Linked DNA regions of Homo sapiens: region 2 is linked to region 1. Evidence: promoter capture Hi-C in 16 types of primary human blood cells and fetal thymus (Javierre and others, 2016). All regions are on one chromosome and are shown on one strand. Each heading gives the region's core, a stretch centred on a gene start or on the middle of the fragment in contact. The rest is flanking DNA. Distances are from core to core; before and after follow the strand shown.

Region 1 (3,406 bases), core at 411-2,910:
ATTAGAACAACTATTGTAGAATTGAGTGACCCTTTGCTTTGCAAAGGTCATATAGAAATATTCTGCCACTGAGGATCTCATGTCGCCCAGTGGTTCTGAAAATAAATAGAAGTTGCGTACCTTCATGGACACCCATGAATGAAAGTAAATATACCCTAATCATCACAGGAAGCATGTGCGGTCTGCACGTGAAAGATGCATCTCCCATCAGCTAACAGAACCAGGTGGAGTCTATGTTTTAATAAGGACGTGTTATTGATCAGGAAGTATTAGGTTATTATGCCTAGGTAGTTGCTTCTGGGATTCCAGTCCAAAAGGATCACCAAAGCATCATGGGATTTTCAATGGCTTCCTGTGGCTTGGCAAATGCTCACTGCTAACTGTGATTTCCCAGTTATCCAGAGTAGCAGTCAAATCAAAGGGGAAAGCCTCATGTTTCAATAACTTAAAACAAAACAAAAAAAAAAACGGCCAGGCGCAGTGGCTCACGCCTGTAATCCCAGCACTTCAGGAGGCCAAGGTGGGTGGATCATGAGGTCAGGAAATCAAGACCATCCTGGCTAACAGGGTGAAACCTCATCTCTACTAAAAATACAAAAAACTAGCCGGACATGGTGGCACGCGCCTGTAGTCCCACCTACTCGGGAGGCTGAAGCAGGACAATTGCTTGAATCCAGGAGGCAGAGGTTCCAGTGAGCCGAGATGGGGTCACTGCAATCCAGCCTGAGCGACAGAGCGAGACTCTGTCTCAAAAAAACAAACAAAAACAAACAAAAAAAAAAACTCAGTAACCTTGGTTTAAAGTATTTCCTTGGTGGCCCTCTGGGTTGTGTAACAATCGGATGCATTAATTATTATGGCATCAAATGACACCAGCAACATACATAGTCAGAAATAACTATTTGATTCAGGCAGGTGCTATTATTTGTTTCAGCACTGTTAAATGTGGGGTTTTTGTTTTTGCAAGAGAAAAGGCGGTTGTGTGTGGTTTCAAGAAGAAGAAAAGTCAGAACAACATGCAGCCCATTAGAAAAGATAAATTCTTTATTTGTGGAAAACAACAGAAGTGGGGCTATTTAGGCACCGCCAATGTTTATTATATTCATATGGCAGAGAATAAACACAGCACACTAGAAGTTTGCGCTTTGGGTATTAAAAAAAAAAAAAAGCAAAACCTTCTTAGGTCACTGACTATCTTCTTTTGCTCCTTTCTATCTGACTCCTCAGGCAAGGTGCAATTCAAATCCCTGGAGAACCTCTCAAATATAGCTGCTGTTCAATGTTACTCAGAAATAAGGAAAGAAATTTGACACGGAGACACTCCACATCTTGGCTGCCTGGAAAAATATCATCTTTGAGGTCATTCAACTCACTAAGTCATTTTTATTATTGTTTTGTCTGTCTATTTTCTGGTACAGTCTCAATGAAAGATATGTGGCCCTAATCATGCAAAACCGATCTGGGGGGAATCAGTTGTTTCTTCAGGTCTTCGCAGGATTCCAGCTCCCCCAACTACCTCCGTCGCCTTCTAAAACTGGCAGGCTCTGGACGTTTTGCATGCTGAAGAAAATCACTGTTTTGCCTCCAGCAAGGAACATAAATGTTGCAACACTGACTCCTCCTCTCATGAAGAAAGAGTGAACAAGTGCACCGAGTTGAGCTTCTTCTCACAGAGCCACCGGGCTGGGGACCGGGGAGCGGAGGCTGAAATCCCCAGACGCCGGTTTTCTGGGCTGGGCTTTCTGCCTTACTCACTCCTTCTCCCTCTTTCTGGATTTTACCGACCGTTCGCGAAACAGCTTTCCACACAATGGAGCTTCATGTCCTCGTGCAGGAAGTACTCATCGACTGATGTGGCAGACTTTGCTCCCTGGCAAAAGTGAGTACCCATGGCGAGCTGAGGCCGCCTCCGACGGCGCGCGGCAGGGGCTGCGCGGGCGGCCGCTCTCCGGGATGCGGGTTCGAGGCCCGCGTGCTGAAGGGGAGAGCGGGGCCACCGGCGCGGGCTCCTGGAGAGAACGCCAGCCAGGAGCCAGAGTCGGCAGCCGGCGGGGAAGCCCGGGATCCGCCCGCCTCCCGCCCGGATGTCCCTTCTCAGAGGGGCTAAAAAATACTCTTAAGGTGCTTTGCCTCCACCACTGCCCCCAACCCCAGCTTTTACAAACTGCACTCGGCTCGCATTCGCCTTTGTCAAAGGCATCTTCACCTGTATCCTTGAGCATGAGTTTCGGCGTTGATTGTGGGATTCTCAGAATGCAAATTATTTGCGTCAAAATAAAAAGAAAAGAAAAAAAGAGCGGGGAGGGGGAAGGGGCGCAGACAGGTGATGTGATGAAAGCCGGACTCGAGACTCTCCCATCAGCAGCAGCCGCCGCCGCAGCAGCCTCGCGGGCATCCGGCGGGGAAAGTTTAGGGTTAGCAATGCTGACCTGAAAGGTGTTGCTCCTCCCAAAAGTCAGCGGGGGTAGGGGCAGATGAGCAGCCTCCGGGCCAGAAGCCGGAGCTGGACGGAGGCACCTAGGCAGAGGAATTGCAGCCCGGGAGGAAGCTGGAAGGAGAGCCCGCTGGAGAAGGGAGGAGGGAAGGGAAGAGGAGTTGGTTAAAGTCAGGCAAACTCAGGTAACTGGAGGGCCGGCCCGAGTGCTACGGCAGGGGAAGGCAAGGGCTGGAGTTCTGGCTCTTTGAGTAGAAAACTATCCTTTTAGTGACCTCTACCTGTATCCTGGGGAAGCAACCCACACTGCCCTGAAAACAAGCAACGTAGGGGATTCTATGACTGGACTTGAAAATGGTTGCAAAACATTATTATTAGTCTGGAGGGATCACTTTGTCTTCATTTGTCAAGTTGACCGGGCAAGATTTCCCACCTGAAATCGTGCTTCACTTGACCAGGGAAGTGCTGCTAATCCCAATCCTGACCATCAGCTGTGCAAACTTGGGCAAGATACTTACCCTCTCTGGGCTTCGATTTTTTTTCTGCAAAGTTTAGGGAATTAATTAATTATATATATATATTATAGAAATATATATAATATATATATAAATGTTTAATGAGGTGGAAGTGCTGAATAGTGCAAGAGAGGAGCAGATGAAAATATTAATTTCAGTGGTTCTTAAAAATTAGGGGTGATAGGTCCTTTTGAGAATTAGCTGTGAGTCCTCTTCCTGGGGCAAAATGCATATGGCATGTACATAAAATTTTACATGCAATCCCTGAGGGTTTGTGGATACTCCCTGAAAGCCATGCCTGAATCCCAGGTGACAATCCCTTATTCCTCCTCCTGTATCAAGACCACCCAGCCAACTCCTTGCTGCTGGTTGGGCTGACTGTGGGAGTAATCCACAGCCTTCTTGGGGGTCTGGAGTCAGCCACGCTGCTGAAGGAGACAGCTCCCCTGTCATGGGT
Region 2 (3,406 bases), core at 345-2,844, 550 kb before region 1:
AATGATTCCTAGGATAGGTGATGGAAAGAATGGTTTGCTTTCTTTTACTCATACTGTTCTTATGCTTCTAAAGTATGGATCTTTGTTAAGTGGCAGGAAAAATGCAAGTGTAATCAACTGTTTCATTGCATTTTGCATGATCTAATTTGATTATCATGTATAAGGTCATTATTTTTTCTGGTATATTTGTGTTAATAATAATCAATAAATAATATTTTATGTCTAATCATTACCTTTACCAAAAGAGAGGTAGAATCATCATAAGTGGCAGAATTTGACCAGAAAAGGAGTGTTGAATATGTTACAATATATGATGCTTTTCAATTTTATGTTATCTTTAGTAAGGGCTATTTTAATGGAGACTTTTGTTTTCAAAGGGATTAACCAATACTTAGCAGAAAACCCCTTAAGCTTTAGTTCTTTCCATTTACATCTTGATACTATCTAGTTGCAAGTATTTAAAGCATTCAGTCATTGTTCTAATCAAAGATTAAATAATAATCCAATACTTGTATTTGTGTGGCATGATTAAAACATGCAAAGTGTAATTTAGTAACATCAGTGCTTTTTATAAATCTGCTAAAAAATCCTACCATGGGCCTAGTAACATAATGGCTGTTATATGCAAATAAATATGTATGCTTCCCTCCCAAAAAAATCCATCTGTTTTAATATATTTTAGTGAACTTGAAAGTTGCATCTTAGATATTATGGATTGCATGGGCATATATGAAATAATATAGGAAAATGTTTTTATTTCTTGGCATAGAAATAATAGCAAGTTTGAGCAGGAAGTTCTGCAGGATCACACATTTGAAACACACATGTTCAGCCAGCTCCTCCACACTTTCAAACCTGCTATCACTCACTAAGATTGTGTTTTGAAATTATAGAGTTCTAGGGTAAATACAGTGGAAGGTATCATAAAGGATTGTTTTCCATTTCTTGGAAGAAATACAACAAAAGCCTTCATTTAAAAGACGGATGGGTGTGTGTCATGTTTCTTAAGTGAACAATTGCCAAACCGGGGTAGAAAAACAAAAAAGCCAGAGTATACTTTGTGGGGCCAGAAGAGATGGGGAAAAGGGGTGAGTGGCAGTTAATGGGTTTCCTCAGGCAGGGCCATTGTCAATGTTTGGAGCCTGATTTCAAGAGTATCAGTAGAGAACCTCCAATTCTGTGACTCTGGGATGCAGAAAAATGGAGTAATACTTTTCCCTGCCCTCTATAAGAATAGCAAGAATAATAACAATGAACGTTACTCCTGTCAATCAAATTCCCAACACTTATTAATTATTTTAGATATACCTAAAAAGCAATATATGCAATATATATTTTTTCAAATGGTATAATTGAGCTAATAGAGAAAAGAGTTTAAACTGTTTGCCCATAGACCATACATAACTCACTTTGAATCATCACAATCCCCAAATCCTACCGTATTGTATAGCCTTGTAAATTCTGTGGTAATTACAACTGTTATTCTTGCATATGGGTTAATTCTCCAGCTTGGGTGGGAGGAGGTGGTTCCTCACACAGAGAAAGCCTCCTCTTCTACTCGCCTGGAGTTCATGCAGTTGGAGAAAGAAAAGCAGAGCAGTCTCCTAAACATTTCCCAAACATCATGCTCCTATCCTCACGCTTCTTGTCTACAGAGTTTCCAGCAGCTGTTCCCCTAACTGTAAACATTCTCTGTAGCCTTGCCACAAAATCTCTTTACCCTCTTCAATTTCTCCCTCCAAAGTTTTGCTCCACAGACTTTTCCCTGACCAATTTCAGGGCACACTGATGCTTTGCATTCTTGAGCACTTGAATAACATTCATACTGTGTCCCAGAAAGAACTCAAATAGTTGTTCATATTTCCTTCCTCTTTGCTTGCCTTTTCAAATTAAACTCTCAGCTCCTAGGGCAAATGGTTTCCTTTTACTCTGCTTTTAAAAAAATAAAAATTAAAAAAAAAACAACTCCGTTTCTCCCTCCCTCCCTTCCTTTACTTCCTCTCCCTCCCTTCTTATTTCTCCCATAGTCTGAAAACATTTATCTGTTGACATCTTTGTGTCCCAAGGGTTTCTAGAGTTAATCTTCTGAGACACATGTCAAGTTATAGCTGCTATTTTTTAAAATTTATTTTTAAATTTTTAGTGGAAATATGAGCTCTGGATTTGAGGTTGGATCCAAGAAAGTATTATGATTAGCATCATGGATACTAGGGTCCCTGCTGAAAGATATATTGTAAGTGGATGATAATTTTCAAAATCCACTTCTACCTATTCAAGTGTCCCCAGATGCCTTTAGTTTTTACCTATTAATTGAGTGATTTCCTCCCAGTCACCAGAGTGTAGGATTAAAGCAAACCACATGTCATGTTTAGAATCCACTTACACTTATCTTTTTATTTTATGTGTAAAATAATGGCCTGGATAAAATGAAGAGAAAAAGCAACTCTGAAGAGGGAAGTACATAATAACAGGGCATTGTGGAGCTCGCACCATGTAGAAGAGGGTGCACTCTGTCTGACTAAAGGACTGAAGGAATTTCATGGACTGATTTGTAAAGTCGAGATTTTTTGTACCTGCTGATGGCCATGTTTCCTTCGTGCCCAAATGCTGCCAAATGGCACCTCCGTCCCTCCACAGCTGAAGTGTGGGCTTTTATACCTTGGAGCTGTAAAGCCTGCTCTAGCTGATTTGATGAGCTGACACATCAAAGCGCAAGGTTCACCCAGGCACACACACATACACCAATTTCACCTATTGGGCTTGGCAAGGAAGCTTTCGGACTTAGAGTAATGCTCTTTTTACTAATGATATATGATGTGAATTTCTGGAAATACTGGACTTTTTTAAAAAGTAACATTGTATTAATACTAAAGTCAGTTGACTATGCTACAGGGAAAAGTAATAATTTCCCAATAAGTAGTATATGTTGAAAAGTAAAAGAAATCTGCTTATGAGAGGCAACTTAGTTCAGTGAGAAGGGGCAAGAACTTTGGATCTGCAGAGTTCTGAATGATATATGACCATAGGCAAAAAATCTGCTAAACTCCTCTGTGAGTCAGTATCTAGACCTTTAAAGTGGAGATGATAATCCTATGTGATCTGTCTGAATTACTTGTGCTATCAATCGACAGAACTCATTGAAGAATATCTGGAAGTAGGAAAAGGCTGAATAAAAAAAGCCTGTGCAGATGCTGTAGGTCCATGCTGATAAAATGTGAAAGAGATAAAATTGTTGTGTGCAGAAAACATTTACACATACATATGAACAAACCGACTAATTAATTAAGCAAACATTTTCTAACAGCTTATTTGATTCTGCTTATGGTCTACAAGCACTGAGGGAAAAGGCCAACATAAAAGGGAAATCTTCTACTGCCTGGTCTCCCCTCACAGAAACACAAACTCA

What was found. Contacts are between HindIII fragments. The CHiCAGO score rates a contact against its expected background, and 5 or more counts as called.
Region 2: a fragment that was not itself captured here is called in contact with the fragment with the promoter of PRLR in region 1 in 1 of 17 cell types (M0 macrophages); the score reaches 5.3 in M0 macrophages.

The regions. Positions count from the first base shown.
Region 1 is chr5:35,228,741-35,232,146 of GRCh38, reverse strand. PRLR (prolactin receptor) reads left to right here and starts at 1,660. Exons shown (of 10, transcript NM_000949.7): 1 at 1,660-1,879. The HindIII fragment of the contact is 6,146 bases long and covers 1-3,406 here.
Region 2 is chr5:35,779,701-35,783,106 of GRCh38, reverse strand. All of the region lies in intron 30 of SPEF2 (sperm flagellar 2), which reads right to left. Among named protein-coding and RNA genes, the nearest start is that of IL7R, 75 kb to the left of the region's middle. The HindIII fragment of the contact is 2,361 bases long and covers 414-2,774 here.